4 separate regions of the Homo sapiens genome follow, and regions 2, 3 and 4 are each linked to region 1. The links are contacts of gene promoters, found by promoter capture Hi-C in human tissues and cell types (Jung and others, 2019). All regions are on one chromosome and are shown on one strand. The core of a region is centred on a gene start or on the middle of the fragment in contact, and the rest is flanking DNA. Distances in the headings are between cores, read along the strand shown.

What was found. Contacts are between HindIII fragments. The study calls those that stand out against the background at their distance.
Region 2: the fragment with the promoter of CASKIN1 here is called in contact with the fragment with the promoter of WDR90 in region 1 in 1 of the 25 tissues and cell types used here (lymphoblastoid cells).
Region 3: the fragment with the promoter of NDUFB10 here is called in contact with the fragment with the promoter of WDR90 in region 1 in 1 of the 25 tissues and cell types used here (lymphoblastoid cells).
Region 4: the fragment with the promoter of MAPK8IP3 here is called in contact with the fragment with the promoter of WDR90 in region 1 in 1 of the 25 tissues and cell types used here (spleen).

The regions. Positions count from the first base shown.
Region 1 is chr16:647,669-651,758 of GRCh38, forward strand. It overlaps WDR90 (WD repeat domain 90), which reads left to right and starts at 1,697. Exons shown (of 41, transcript NM_145294.5): 1 at 1,697-1,758; 2 at 2,095-2,186; 3 at 2,323-2,499; 4 at 2,586-2,694; 5 at 2,871-3,041; 6 at 3,327-3,435; 7 at 3,531-3,598; 8 at 3,976-4,079. The coding sequence starts at 1,749. MCRIP2 (MAPK regulated corepressor interacting protein 2) reads left to right here. Exons shown (of 5, transcript NM_138418.4): 4 at 115-216; 5 at 452-806. The coding sequence ends at 522. It overlaps LOC105371038 (a long non-coding RNA gene), which reads right to left and starts at 1,645. Exons shown (of 2, transcript NR_135177.1): 1 at 1,287-1,645; 2 at 790-947. RefSeq lists enhancers at 262-311, 1,734-2,556 and silencers at 1,732-1,831, 1,942-2,071. The HindIII fragment of the contact is 7,525 bases long and covers 1-4,090 here.
Region 2 is chr16:2,194,307-2,198,396 of GRCh38, forward strand. It overlaps CASKIN1 (CASK interacting protein 1), which reads right to left and starts at 2,299. Exons shown (of 20, transcript NM_020764.4): 1 at 2,033-2,299. The coding sequence starts at 2,126. The HindIII fragment of the contact is 36,898 bases long and covers 1-4,090 here.
Region 3 is chr16:1,958,240-1,960,787 of GRCh38, forward strand. NDUFB10 (NADH:ubiquinone oxidoreductase subunit B10) reads left to right here and starts at 1,299. Exons shown (of 4, transcript NM_004548.3): 1 at 1,299-1,515. The coding sequence starts at 1,386. RefSeq lists an enhancer at 1-356 and silencers at 1,079-1,388, 1,819-1,928. The HindIII fragment of the contact is 2,906 bases long and covers 266-2,548 here.
Region 4 is chr16:1,703,839-1,707,928 of GRCh38, forward strand. MAPK8IP3 (mitogen-activated protein kinase 8 interacting protein 3) reads left to right here and starts at 2,357. Exons shown (of 32, transcript NM_001318852.2): 1 at 2,357-2,819. The coding sequence starts at 2,502. RefSeq lists silencers at 910-1,204, 2,111-2,450, 2,721-2,830, 2,851-2,900 and an enhancer at 1,688-2,552. The HindIII fragment of the contact is 16,634 bases long and covers 1-4,090 here.

The sequences.
Region 1 (4,090 bases), core at 447-2,946:
CTTGTGTCCTGTGACCAGCCCTGTGTGGGGCTGGAGTCCAGGGTGACCATCAGGCCCTGGGTGGGCGATGGGGTGCCTGGGACCTGGCTCAGCCCGACTGCCCTCCTCCCACAGCCTGGCAGCAGGTGCAACAGCAGCTGGATGGTGGCCCAGCCGGTGAGGGCGGGCCAAGGCCTGTGCAGTACGTGGAGAGGACCCCCAATCCCCGGCTGCAGAGTGAGCCCCCCAACCCTGTCCCCCCAGGAGAGACCCCCCAGCCCCTCTGATCCTGACCCAGGCCCTGCCAGGTTCCCACCCCAGGGGATGAGGGAGGGGACTCTTGTGCAGAAACCCCTTCTTCCCAGCGCCTGCCGCACTCGGAGTCCGGGTGAGCGGCTTGTGGTTAGCTCCAGGGGAGACTTGCCGGCTGGCCTGGGAGGCAGCATCACTGCCCAGCCTTCTCTGCCCACAGACTTTGTGCCCATTGACCTAGACGAGTGGTGGGCGCAGCAGTTCCTGGCGAGAATCACCAGCTGTTCCTAGTGGCTGCTGGGAGGGGGCGCTGCTACACGGCCGACCTGTCGCCAGGAGAGAAGCATGGCGCCCTGCCCACCCACTGCGCCTGGCTGGGTGCCGGCCACACCTGAAGTGCCAGCATTTGGACTTTTGCACCTTTTTTTCCCTTGGCCCGGCTGTCCCAACCAAGCTGCCATGGCCAAGGGCCGAACCCGTCTGACCTCAGCCCTGCTCACTGTGCCCAGGGACCAGCGACCAGCCCCTGGGGCTGGCAGGGAGGAGCTCCAGGCTAATAAAGTGGAGAAACTGTCTTTTTGGAGTGTCTTTGACTTGGGAGGGTGTAGGGGGGGTTCTCATGTCCAGTTCCAGTCCACAGCCTGGGACGCCAGGCCCAGCACAAACTCCCCTTGTAGCCCTGTTCCTTCAAGCCGTTAGCTTCTCACCCAGCTGCCCTGCGACAGGTAGGAGGGACGTTAGCCAGCCCACCTTGCTTGGAAGTCTGGGGACCCCACTTGGTTCCTCTTTCCTCTCCCGTTGGCGTTGACTGGGACCGAAGCCGAGACTCAAGGCCTAAAGACATTAAATGGCCCCGGAGTGCAGTCCACCACCCCCCACTACCGGCACTGGGGCTGTGTCTCAGAACGCCAGGTCCCATTCTGAATCCGCCGGGCCCGGCCGCAGGACACTGGGCGAAGGAGTACGTGGGGAACCTGATAGGACGAACGTGGGAACCAGCCCCTCCGCGGGCGCCCGCACTACCTTCCCTGATGGACGGGGATGACCCAGCCCACCTGAGTCAGGACCCAGGGTACCCAGGTGTGGAGCAGGGGCCTCTGGACGGCGAGAGAGCGGCAGGGTGAGGCCCGGCCGTCCGTGGCATGGCCAGGCCTCAGCGCGACCTCGCCTCGCTGCTTGCATGCGGCGGGAGCCCCGGCCGGCCGAGGCGCTGACAGGTGGGCGCGGCGGAGGATCCGCAACCGGCGCGGGCTTCGAAGCCGGTCGGGCTAACAGGGGGCTGCCTTGGGAGGCCCGCGGGGCAAAGGGCAGCGGGATTCGCGGCTGGAGCAACCCTGGAGGCCGCTGACGTGAGCGGGGTACTCCCACCGGGGAGGTCACGTGGCCAGGGCGCCGCCATGACGGCGGAAGTAATGGCGGAAGTGGCACCGTTGCCAGGCAGCCGTTGCCTGGCGTCGCGGGGCGTACTCTGCGCTGGGCGCGCGGAGGCCTAGGCGGGAAGCTCGAGCGGCGGCGCCATGGCCCGAGGTAGCGCGCGGCTGGCGGGGGTCCCGAGGATCCCGGGTTCCGGGGTTCCGGGGTCCAGGGTCGGCGGCCGGAGCGCTCAGGGCCCCCGCCTAGGCCCTGAGGCCAGAGTCCCCGCTCAGGCAGGGTCCCGTCTGCCGGGCGCCCACCCTCGGGCTCCCGGAGCTTGGCTTCCCTCGGGCGCCCGGCCTCGTCCCGCCAGCCTAGCTGGCGTTGGCGTCGCCGGGGAAGGCGCGGAGAGCCCCGGCTCCTGCCTGGTCCCCGAGGCCCGGCCCAGCCCCGCAGTGGCCCCGGCTCGCGTGGCCGAGTCCCCTGACGCCCGGCGCCCGCTCCCCGCAGCGTGGCAGCACCCGTTCCTCAACGTCTTCAGACACTTCCGGGTGGACGAGTGGAAGCGCTCCGCCAAGCAGGGGGACGTGGCCGTGGTCACGGTAGGCGGCCGGGGGCTCGCCCGGAGCCCACACCCCTGCCCTGCCCCCAGGAGAGCTGCCCCGCCCCCGAGGGCCCCCTCGCCCCCGCTGCACTTCTTCTGGGTGCTGTCGGTGATGCGGGCTCCCGCTTCTCCAGGACAAGACCCTGAAGGGCGCCGTGTATCGCATTCGGGGCTCAGTCTCTGCCGCCAACTACATCCAGCTCCCTAAGAGCAGCACCCAGTCTCTGGGGCTGACGGGACGATACCTGTATGTGCTCTTTCGGCCCCTGCCCAGCAAGCACTTCGTCATCCACCTCGATGTGTCCTCCAAGGTACGGAGCCCGCGGCTGGGGGCTGCGTGGGAGCCCCGGCACCCCTGCGGCCCCTGTCTCCTCACGGCCCTGCTCCGTCCCCACAGGACAACCAAGTCATCCGTGTGTCTTTCTCCAACCTCTTCAAGGAGTTTAAGTCTACGGCCACGTGGCTCCAGTTTCCCTTGGTCCTGGAGGCCAGGACACCTCAGAGAGGTGACACCAAGATGGGGTGTGGATGATCCAGGACAGGTGGCTGGAGGGAGTTGGTGCAGGCCCAGTGAGGCTCCTCTGCGGCCTGGAGGACAACCTGGCGGGGGCACAAGCTCACAGTTCTGGGAGTCGCGGGCTGTCAGGAGGGTGGGCGCTGACCCTGAGTGCCCATCCTGCAGATCTGGTGGGTTTGGCCCCCTCCGGAGCCCGCTGGACCTGCCTGCAGCTCGATCTGCAGGACGTTCTCCTGGTCTACCTGAACCGGTGCTACGGCCATCTCAAGAGCATCAGGCTGTGCGCCAGCCTGCTGGTCAGGAACCTGTACACCAGTGACCTGTGCTTTGAGCCTGGTGAGGGCCGCACCTGCACTCCCCACTCCATATCTCACCCATGCTCTCAGCCCTGGAGAGGCCCAAGTCCAGGGTGCTTGGGAAAATACAGTGCTCGAGCTGTGCTGTCTCTGAGCTCTGGCCAGAACCCATCCCAGAGGCAGCCCTGGGGTCAGAACCCATCCCAGAGGCAGCCCTGGGGTGGGGCGGTGGCTGGGCTGGTGGCGTGGCAGTGCCTTGGCGGGTGCCCTGTGTTCAGGTGGCTAAACAGCCTCCCTTGACCTGGAACAACCCTGCTCCTTGTAGCCATCTCTGGGGCCCAGTGGGCAAAGCTGCCCGTGACTCCTATGCCTCGGGAAATGGCATTCCCTGTGCCCAAGGGAGAGAGCTGGCATGACCGCTACATCCACGTCCGGTGAGTGGTTCTGCTTCTTTCGAGGGAGGCCTCGGTGGTGGGAGGGTGGGTGGCCCTTGGGCCCCCAGACACTGACTCTCCCTCTGCCTGCCAAGGTTTCCAAGTGAGAGCTTGAAAGTGCCTTCCAAGCCGATTGAGAAGAGCTGTTCCCCTCCTGAGGCAGGTGGGTCTGGGGGGTCAGCGGGGACCCAGGTTAAGGCCTGTAGGGTGCGTGGGGCTCGGTAGGAGAGGGCAGGGCTGGGAAAGGACCCAGTGGTGTGCTGGCTGCAGCTGGTGCAGGGACCCAGGGAAGCCCGTAGGTTGTCCGAGTTCCCAGAACCACGAGGGTGGGAAGTCTGTGTGAGGGGTACCCGGGGGCCCCAAGCTTTCTAGCTGGAAGAGGAGACTTTCAGGGCCTAGGGTGGAAGTGGGGATACTGGCTGTGGGTCCTGCAGAGCCGGTGAGGCTGGGCCACTTGCTGCTGCCCTCCCCAGGCGTCACCCTCACCAGGCATCTGCACAGCTGGCCCCTGGGTCACTGGGGTTCTTTGCTCTGTTCTAGTCCTCCTGGGGCCGGGGCCACAGCCTCTCCCTTGCCCGGTGGCCTCCAGCAAACCTGTGCGGTTCAGTGTGTCTCCAGTGGTCCAGACGCCCAGCCCCACAGCCGTGAGTACCCC
Region 2 (4,090 bases), core at 1,049-3,548, 1.5 Mb after region 1:
CACCGGCATCTCCCCCAGAACAGGCTCCTCTTCCCCTCAAGGACAGCTGCTAAGTGTGTGCGTGCGGGCACGGGAGGCTCCCTTCAGGGCAGGGCGAGTCGGGGGCTGGCTGAGCCTGGGGTGACTCTGGAGCAGGGGCTGGAGGGAAGGGACTGGGCAACCAGAGGGGACCATGGAAGCAAAGCTCATGGGGACAGCCCTGGGCTCACGGGGCCCTGGAGGATACTGCTGGACACCCCCCACCTCGTGGCCCAAACTCAGCTGTACTTTACTGAATCAAAATACATCTTACTCCAAAGCAGGCCAGCGTTGCCATGACGACGGAGCTAATTCATGGAGGGATTTCTCCTCTGATTTATTACACCCGCCCCTGTGAGTCAGAGAGCAGGAGCCGGGGCCAGGGCAGGTGTCTCTCCTGTCCCAGAGGCCAGGCAAGACAGGCAGAGACCCAGGTGAGAGTGGAAGCCCCCACACCTCCCCAGAATGGCCACAATAGAAGGGAGGAGGAACCTCCCCAGAGCTGAAGCCCCCACTTCCCCAGCCCCTGGCCCTGGGCCGTCCAAGACTGCGGTCATTGCTGGCATTTACTGAGCACTTACTGAATGCCTGGGCTGCAAGTGCCCAGGCTCACTGGTCTTAGGACCCCACCGTGAGGCTGACATCCCATCCTACAGACGAGGAGACTGAGGTCCACTGAGCTGGAGTTGTCTGTGTCCAAGGTCATGCGGCCACTAGGTGGAAACCTTTACCTTGCCTTCCCTCAATCCCTACACCTGCTCTCCAGGCTCAGCTGAGGCTGCCTCTGCCCACAAGCTCTCCCTTTCTGAGCCCCCGGACCTGAAATCAGCTCGGGGCCAGCCTGCAAGGCACCGGTGCCCCCTCTCTCTTACTGCACAGAGTGGACAGGAGCTAGCCAGTCATGGGCTGCTGGTGAAGTACGGGGGAGGGGGTCCTCCTGGGACTCCTAGGTGCCCCCAACAATCTCCCAGAAGCCAGTCCCAGTTCTCGGCATCCCCCTGGAGGAAGGGGAGGGGGACTCTCTGGCTTACAGTCTGTGGGGGTGGAGGGAGGAGGGAGGACGCCCAGACCCCACGTGCCGACCTGCAGAGCCCTGTCCGTGCCCGCACAGGTGCCCTGACACACTGACACGGCTATACGTGCGCAGCCGCACACGCGGCTGGTCCACACGCCCATCCATCCATCTCCGGCGGCCCCCAGGGAGGCTACGCGCTGAGCCAGGATGAGTGCTGGGACCAGGGCTCCAAGCTCCCAGCCCTTTCCTGGGGCCGGCCATAGGGCAAGCTGGGGATGGCCAGTGGTGGTCCCCCACTCCCTCATGGCCTCCTTTCCCAGCAGGGAAGCTGGAGACCCGGCTCTGCTGGAGCCTGCCTGAGCAGGGCCCCAAGCCCTTGCGCCCAGGCCGGCCCTGCCTGGAGTCCAGCCTGCCCTGGGCTGGGCGACCTTGGGCCTCTGCTCTCCCATCAGTAAATGGCACCCCACCGGCCATGCCAGGGCAGCCACACCCCCAGCGTGGTCCTGCCCCCACCTTCCCTGCAAAGCGTGTTATTAAACGTGGGGCGGGAGGGGGTCTGCTAGGGACTGTCACCTCCCGGGTCGCCCCTCGCCGCAGGGGCCCCCTCCCTGTCTTCCCGGTGCGTGTGGTGGGTGGGGGGGGCATCCGCCTCGCCCTTTGAAGGCCCCAGCAGAGACCTCCAGCTGTCAGCCCGCAGCCTGGGAAGGGAGGGGGACAGAGGTAGAGAGAGAGGGATGCGAACGCCCGCGGCCCGGGAGGCGGGTGCCGCCAGGTGCCCGCTGCGGGGCTCACGGTGGCGGCCGGCTCTCGGGGCCGCCCCATCTCCAGTGCTGGGGGCAGCGGGTGGAGGGCACGGACCAAGGGTCTGGGCGCTGCTGGCCCCGCCCCGCCCCCGGGGACCCGACAACGTCCCCTCCCCGCCCGGCGCCGGGTGGGGGGCTCCGCGCCGGGGAGGGGCCCCCGGGGCTCCCACCCGCGCCCCGCGCCCCCGGCACTCACTGGCCTTCCCGGGCCGCGGCCTCTGCAGCAGCCTCTGCGCGGTCCCTACGTCCTCCGCCTTCACCGCCTGCACCAGCTCCTGCTCCTTCCCCATGGCGCGGCCGGGGCCGCAGCGACGCGGCTGCGCTCGTGAGCTCGGCGCGGCTCAGAGGCGGCGGCGGCCCCGCGGCACCGGCCGCCTCCCCCGCCGCCTCCCCCGCCGCCTCCTCGCCGCCCGCCGCCCCTTCGCCCTCCTCGGGCTCCGGCTTGGGCTCGGGCTCCCGGCGCGGAGGGGGCGGGGAGCGCGTCACGGGCGGGGGGCGGCCCGGGGGCGGGGGCGCGCGGCGGGCGCGGGGCGGGGGCGCGGCACCTGGCGCCGCCTCCCGGACGCCGGGGTCCGCTCCCGGGCCGCCGACCTCCGTCAGCCCGCGCCGGCCGCGCGCCCGGGCCCGTGGCTCCGCCCTCCCCGCGCCCGCCCCGGGACGCCCCCTCCCCACGTGCGCGCAGCGCGCTCAGGCCAGGCCTCTGCGGACGCGGGCGGCCTGGGGCTGCTAGCCGGGCTGGGGACGCGGCCGCCGGGGGTGCACTGGGAGCCCCGACGCGGCGGCGGCGCGGGGCTGAGCCCAGAGAGGCTTCCAGAGGCTGCGGGACCCGCGGGGGACGGTTCCGAGGCAGCGGGCGGGCGGGGACCGGGCGCCGAGAGACCCGGGCGCCAGTGCCCCTGGAGCCGGCCCGCCAGGCTGTCAGGCGTTCCTGGCCCAGGGTTCCCGTGGGAGGTGTCGAGGGATTGTGAAGAGGAATCTCCCAATAATGAATTCGGTGTCAGGGAACCCGCACCCCCAACCCCCAAGCATCCTCCTGCTCCTCTCCGCAAATAATGCGGGCGCCACAGCTTCCCCCAGCCTCAGTCCGAAGCCTGACCCCAAGGTAGCCCCCACCACCCCCACTGAGGGAGCTCAACTCCCCACTCCCCGCACCGACTGGGGGTCGCCTCCATCTCCATCCACAGGGGCTGGAACCTCCCGCCGGCACCAACCGACCCCCGGCCCACGTCTGCCCACTCTCCAGCCTGCAGCCCAGGCAGGCGAGTCCTGCTTCCTGGGTGCTGGAGGCCCCGACTTGTGACCCTCTGAGCTCCTGGCTGAAGGCTTGGGCCACCCTGCGCCTCAGGCCCTCTCCCGTCAGGCCTGCAGCATTCTAGAGGCAGATCAGTGGGGGTCTGAGTCCCGACTCAGGCTCCGTTTCCCTCATCACCCAAGCGGGCAAGGCCGTTTGGAGAATTTGGGGAGGGTCGCACCCATTCTATGAGGCATGGCCTGGCACCCCACTCTGTGTGGCCCCAGACCATTGAGCAGGTCCAGGGGGACAGAGGAGGTCAGACAGCAGGGACAGGGAAGGTGACAGGCACCGGGGTCCCGGCATCCTGTGGGCAGCTGGCCGTTCCCGTTCCCTCCGTGGGGTCTCCTGTTAGGTTCAGGTAGCAGCCCTTGGTCTTCCAGCACTCCTGGGAGGGGTCCCCAAATGCTAGGGCCTTTCCTCTTGCCCTTTCCAATGACCAGTTGAGTACCCGCTGGGTCAGGCACTGTGCTGGTCACCTCCTAGATGAGGTTGGACTCACTGTCCCCATTTTACAGATGAAGAAACTGAGGCTCAGAGAAGCCAAGGGGCTCACCTGGGGTCCCAGAGTCTTGAGGTTGTAAGTCTGGGCTTTGCACCCGCACCTCTGGATGTGTCCTATTCCCCCTCTTAGTGGTTTGTGACCATGAGCTGGTCACTTTGTCATTCTTTTTTCTGAGACAGGGTCTCGCTCTGTCGTCCAGGCTGGGGTGCAGTGACGCCATCATAGCTCACTGCAGCCTCAACATCCCAGGCTCAAGCAGTCCTCCCGCCTCAGCCTCCTGAGTAGCGCCCGGCTAATTTTTTTTGATTTTTAATAGAGATGAGGTCTCAGTATGTTACCTAGACTGGTCTCGAACTCCTGGCCTCAAGCAGTCCTCCCACCTCAACCTCCCAAAGTGCTGGGATTGCAGACGTGAGCTACCACACCCAGCCCACTGCCTAAGTGTCTGTGCCCCTCTG
Region 3 (2,548 bases), core at 49-2,548, 1.3 Mb after region 1:
CTGGAGCAGGGGGCGGCGCTCGTCGGGGAGGTTCGGGCCGCACAGGAGCCCACGGAGTGGGGGAGGCTCAGGCATGGCGGGCTGTAGGTCCCGAGCCCTGCCCCGCGGGGAGGCAGCTAAGGCCTGGCGAGAGAAATCGAGCGCAGCGCCGGTGGGCCGGCCTGCTGGGGGACCCAGCACACCCTCCGCAGCCGCTGGCCCGGGTGCTAAGCCCCTCATTGCCCAGGGCCGGCAGGGCCGGCCAGGCTCTCCGAGTGCGGGGCCCGCCGAGCCCACACCCACCTGGAATTCGCGCTGGCCCGCAAAGCACCGCGCGCAGCCCCGGTTCCCGCCTGCGCCTCTCCCTCCACACCTCCCCGCAAGCTGAGGGAGCCCGCTCTGGCCTTGGCCAGCCCAGAAAGGGGCTCCTCAAGTGCCGCCAAAGTGGGAGCCCAGGCAGAGGAGGCGCCGAGAGCGAGCGAGGGCTCTGAGGACTGCCAGCACGCTGTCACCTCTCACTGTTTGTCTGTAGGGTTGATGGTTCTGTGTCGCTGGCCTCAACCTCAGGACAGGACATGACCAGTGTCCCCCCTGGATAGCAGCCAGGGGCCGTGCCAGGTGTGGAGACTGAAGATGTGGCCAGCAGGACCCTGCTCAGTGGAGCTGCCTAGAAGCACCAGAGTGCCCCAGGGCCAGGATGGAACCATCAAAGCCGGCCAGAGGGCCCTGTGCCCAGGGTAGGTGCCTTCTCCCTATGAGCCGCCTAAGGGCAAGCCCTGCCTCCTGGTCTGCTCCCTGCCCTCCCCCAGACAGGCTCCCAAGTTAACTGGCACCAGCCAGTCCATGAGGGGCCCTTGTAGAGAGCGGGGCCCAGAGAAGTCTGTAGGGACTAGGCAATCCAGGAAAGCTTCCTGGAGGAGTAGGGTGTTTGGAATCGCGTGCTATTTGTTCACTTTGTCGTGTGCGCTCTAACGGCCTGTGTTCTCCATCACAGTTTATCTTATTCCCTGCTGCACTCAGCACAGTGCCTGGCGCGCAGTGGGAACCGAATGACCCCCTCCTATTCCTTATGTCAGTTGCCTTTTGTCTGTTTCTTTCATCGTAAGCAGGAATCTGTCCGGTTCGCGGCTGCTTCCCAGGCGCCCAGACCAGCGACCAGCACCGCGTAGGCGCTCGGCACAGACCGAGAACGGAGGCCCCACGCGGGGGCGCCCTGCGGCGAGGCGGGTCCCGGCCGCGCCCGGCGGAGCCGGGGAACTACAAGTCCCATGGTGCATCGCGGCGCCAGCGCGCAGACGCAGCCGCCCTCGGCGTCCTCTGTAGCGGGCGACCTAGGCCGCGGGACCCGGACGGAGGTAGAGGCCAGGGCAGCGCGTCCGGGAGCGGAGTCCGCGCCCGCCGCCGCCATGCCGGACAGCTGGGACAAGGATGTGTACCCTGAGCCCCCGCGCCGCACGCCGGTGCAGCCCAATCCCATCGTCTACATGATGAAAGCGTTCGACCTCATCGTGGACCGACCCGTGACCCTCGTGAGAGGTACGAAGCCCCAGCCCGGGGCTCCCTCGCCGGCCTCTGGGGACCCCTGGATCCCACACCCTGCCTGGATCCTCCAATGCCTCCGGGGTCCCGTCTGCCTGAGACCGCCCCCCGCTGCACCCCGGGGACAACTCCCCACCCCCGGAGACCTCCGAGCTCCGTCGCCTCCTTTGGCCTCCCACTGCACCCCGGACCTCACCTCCCAGGATCCCTTACTCTCCCCTGCACCCCGGGATGCCCCGCTTCTTCCCAGGACTCTTCCCTCCCTGCCGCACCCAGCGCCCACTGCCCCAGGACCCCGCACTGCTCTCCGCCCCCCGCCGCCCCGGGCACCCCTCCACTGCACCGCTGGCCTCAGGCCTCTCTCAAATGTCTCTCTGCCGGATGACCAAGTGTCGGGGTGATGGCCGAGATGCCCAAATTCAGCATCTCTGGAACGAACCGGGAAAATGCCCAGTTCAGTTTTTGTTGTTTTTTTTTTTCCTGAGACAGTCTCACTCTGTTGCCCAGGCTGGAGTGCAGTGGCGCGATCTCGGCTCACTGCAACCTCTGCCCCACCCCGGGTTCAAGCGATTCTCCTGCCTCAGCCTCCCCAGTACTAGGATTACAGGCGCACCACCACCACGCCCAGCTAATTTTTATATTTTTAGTAGACACGGGGTTTCACCATGTTGGCCAGGCTGGTCTCGAACTCCTGACCTCAGGTGATCCTCCCACCTTGGCCCCCAGGTGCTGGGATTACAGGCCTGAGCCACCGTGTCCAGCCTGGTTCAGTTCTTTTTGAACACTTGGGGTGCATAGCATGCTCTGGTGGTTCTTCCGTAAGAGGGTGAAGTCTCCAAATCAAACCCCCAAAGATCTGGAAACCGTGCAACAGCGGACCCAGCTCCCTCTCTTTTGTAGCAGTTGTAGAGCATGTCTGTCCTATGTGTCTGGATGTTCGAGCTCTCCTTTTAGCTCGTTCATTTCCCAGTGAGGAAGCTGAGGCCGTAAGGTGGTAAGTTCTGCTTGCTGGAGGCTCCCTGTTGGAGCC
Region 4 (4,090 bases), core at 1,107-3,606, 1.1 Mb after region 1:
TCAGGAGTTTGAGACCGGCCTGACCAGTATGGTGAAACCCCCATCTCTACTAAAAATTACAAAAATTAGCCAGGCGTGGTAGCACATGCCTGTAGTCCCAGCTACTCGGGAGGCTGAGGCAGGAGAATGGCTTGAACACGGGGGGCGGAAGTAACAGTGAGCTGAGATGGTGCCACTGCACTCCAGCCTGGGCCACAGACTGAGACTCCATCTCAGGAAAAAAAAAAAAAGAAAAGAAAAGAAATGGAGATTTGGCAAAATTAAGTCACTTGGGATCCCAGGAAATTGGAATCTGAGGCTGAATGAAACCTCTTAGTGGGATGGTTGAACATGTATACGGCAAATTATGTTGCAAGTGGAAAATGTGAAAAACACAATAGAGCCTGGCATGGTGGCTCACACCTGTCATCTAAGCACTTTGGGAGGCCAAGGGGGAGGATCGCTTGAGGCCAGGAGTTCAAGACCAGCCAGAGTAACAGTGAGACCTCTGTCTCTACAAAAATGTTTTTAAAATTGGCCAAGCAGTGGTGGCTTACACCTGTAGACCCAACTACTTAGGAGGCTGAGGTGGGATCACTTGAGCCTAAGAGTTCAAGTGAGCCCTGATCATGCCAGTGCCTCCAGCCTGAGCAACAGGGTGAGACCCTGCCTCTAAAAACTGAACAACAAAAAAAATCAGTAGGGTGTCAGCTACGGGAGTTACTGTTTCGGTGCAATCAGATTAGGATGAGAGGATCTGAACTGATGAGCATTGCAGTAGGTGAAAGACGGTAAGTGGCCATTTCTATTAGCATTAAATAGTCACTGATGTGGTTTCATCAGGATTCACAATACATGTGTGGCTCCCAAATTGAGTTTCAAAGTCTTGGGTTCATGGTGTCCCCTGCCCAGCAAAATAAAGTGCAAATCTTACGGAGCAACACATTTTAAGTTCAGGCCTCAAGTACTTCCAGAGACAAAAGTCCTGGGGACACTGGCTCAGAATGGGGGAAAGGGGACCCTGGGCCAAGAGTCAACCAGGATGACATGCAGAATCAGACCTGCAAGGGCTGCAGATACTGTAGTTATGAGGCACACCCAACGCTTAAAGATAAATATGTGGTTGGAAGTATAAGAGCCTATTAAAACTGCTAGAATATAAGAAATCAAATAGGACAAAAACAGAATCATTGGCAGGGTGCAGTGGCTCACGCCTGTAATCCCAGCACTTTGGGACGCCGAGGGAGGCGGGTGGATCACTTGAGGTCAGCAGTTCAAGACCAGCCTGGCCAACATGGTGAAACCCCGTCTCTACTAAAAATACAAAAAAATGAGCCGGGCGTTAATAGCGCGTGTCTGTAGTCCCAGCTACTCAGGAGGCTGAGGCAGGAGAATCGCTTGGACCCAGGAGGCGAAGGTTGCAGTGAGCCGAGATCGCGCCATCACACTCCAGCCTGGGCGACAAGAGCGAAACACCGTCTCAAAAAAAAAAAAATCGGTGCAATTAATAACCCAGTGGATGGGTTAAACAGATTGCACGTAGCTGAAAAGTAACCGAAAATCTGGACTGGCGCGGTGGCTCACGCCTGTCATCCCAGCACTCTGGGAGGTCGAGGCGGGCGGATCACTTGAGATCAGAAATTTGAGACCAGCCTGGCCAACATGGCGAAACCCCGTCTCTACTAAAAATACAAAATTAGCTGGTCTGTAATCCCAGCTACTCCGGAGGCTGAGGGAGAAGAATCACTTGAACCCAGAAGGCGGAGCTTGCAGTGAGCCAGGATCGCGCCACCGCACTCCAGCCTGGGCGACAGAGCAAGACTCCATCTCAAAAAAAAAAAAAAAAAAGAAAATCTGAAGCAGTCAGTGCAGTAGGGAGAAGTGGGCGAAAGGAAGGAGGCCACGCTGCTGGGTTTCAGGATGAGATGGGCGTTGAGGGTGCATTCACAGAATCCCGGGAGGAGCCAGCTGAGCGGGGAAGGCATCAGGAGAGGGGAGGCACTGAGCGGGGCGCGGTGCTGTAGGGAACGGAGGCTCATCAGGGCGGCCGGGATTGAGGCGCAGGCGCTGAGCCTTCACCTAAGTCCGCCGAAGTGTGCAGAGCCTGGAGACGGGATCGAGGTCACCGGAAGCCCACGGTTGCGGGGACATGATCAAGCTACAGCGCGCTGGGGGAAGCGACCACTGCCGCCCCGCGGATCCCACCGGCCTGGCCGGGAGCTCCCTCTGCCCGGCTCACCCGCGCTTCCGGCCCGAAGCCCGGCTTCCTCTGACGTCACGGCCCCTGCGCCCCCTGGCGGCGCGGCTGCGGCGGGACGCGCGGGCACCGCCCCCTCCGGCTGGAGGGCGGGACTTCCGGTGAGTGAGTGACGGGCGCAGCCTCGGCAGCGGCGGCGGCGGAGCCCTGAGGCGACAGCAGCTGCGGGAGGCGACGGGCTGCGGCCTGCGGAACCTGAGGCAGCTGGGGAGGGCCGGGCGCGCCGGCCGGATAGCGAGCCGCGCTGGCGGCGGCGGTGGCCGCGATGATGGAGATCCAGATGGACGAGGGCGGCGGCGTGGTGGTGTACCAGGACGACTACTGCTCCGGCTCGGTGATGTCGGAGCGGGTGTCGGGCCTGGCGGGCTCCATCTACCGCGAGTTCGAGCGCCTCATCCACTGCTACGACGAGGAGGTGGTCAAGGAGCTCATGCCGCTGGTGGTGAACGTGCTGGAGAACCTAGACTCGGTGCTCAGCGAGAACCAGGAGCACGAGGTGGAGCTGGAGCTGCTGCGCGAGGACAACGAGCAGCTGCTCACCCAGTACGAGCGTGAGAAGGCGCTGCGCAGGCAGGCGGAGGAGGTGCGTGGGCCGCGGGACCCGCCCGCATCCCCGTCCCGGACCCCCAGCCAGCCCCGGGCCCCGGACCCAACACCCGTCCCGACCCCAGACCCCGCTCCGGCACCCCGGACCGCGGGACCCCTGGACCCCCAGACCCCGCCCCGAGACCCGCCTGGACCCCATATCCCCCGCCCCGGGACTTCCCCACCCCCTCTGCCCGCCGTGAGACACCTCCCTAGAGCACTCCCCCGCCTGCCCCGGGACCCCACCCCGACTCCCGGGGACCCCCTTTTCCGCCCAGGCCTGGGCCCTGGCCCCCTCCTCCGTGCCCCCAGCCCTGAATCTTCAGCCCCAAACCCGATGTGCCTGGCGTCATCCCCGGGGAGCTCAGCTTCAAAGCCAGGCCTCACTCTCCCCTCCCCACCCACCTCTGCATGACAATTGCCTTTGCTTTCGTGCGTGTGTTCAGTCAAAACCGTTTCCCGACCCCAAGTGCTACCTCTGTTGGCTGCCATTCTAAACCCATCTAGAAAAGGAATCTTTTGGTGTTCTTAGGGGGCTGCAGCCGTCTGTGGATGATGTTGGAGACCTTTCCCTTGTCCCTAATCCCGTATTTTGAAGGTCTGTGACACGGGTGAATTGGGTGGTTGATGTAAACACAGAACAAGGCCGCAGGCGGGCTGCTCCTCTGTCAGCAGAAGGAACACTCGAGTTTCTGGAGGTGATGTCTTTGCCCCCTTGGTTCCTTGCTTGGCGAGATTGTTAGCTGATGTAGCCAGGGCTGAGAAACTCCACTCTGGCTTCTGAGGAGTTAACAGTCTGAGTTTGAAGCGTTTAATTCTGTGCTAGGATGTCTCCATAACCTGGAAATCGCTTGTCTGTGAAGCAGTTACAAGAGCCGGGCCCTGTGGGGAGCACCACTTAGCTTCATTCATTCACCGTCAGATACTGAGCTCGGCCTGCCTGTGTGTGGGCCCAGAACCTCGCCCTTTGTCAGAAACAGGTTCAGGGAGGCTGGTTCCCATCCCTGCTTTGCCTCTGTGACCTTGGCCTGTCGCCTGCCTGGGGTTCGATTTTCCATCAAAGGAGTGAATTGCACTAGGCGATCTCCAAGCCCAGAAATTCTCTCATTCTAGGAGTTAGGTAATGCTGTTTGACTTATGAATAGAAGTGTCTTAGGAAATGAGCTTCAATTCCTTTTCAATTAATTCGGCTTAACACATTCTTGACTTTAATAGGAAAATAAAAGATTGTGTCAGTATTTTGGCTTTTTCTGAAACCAAGGTGATTTA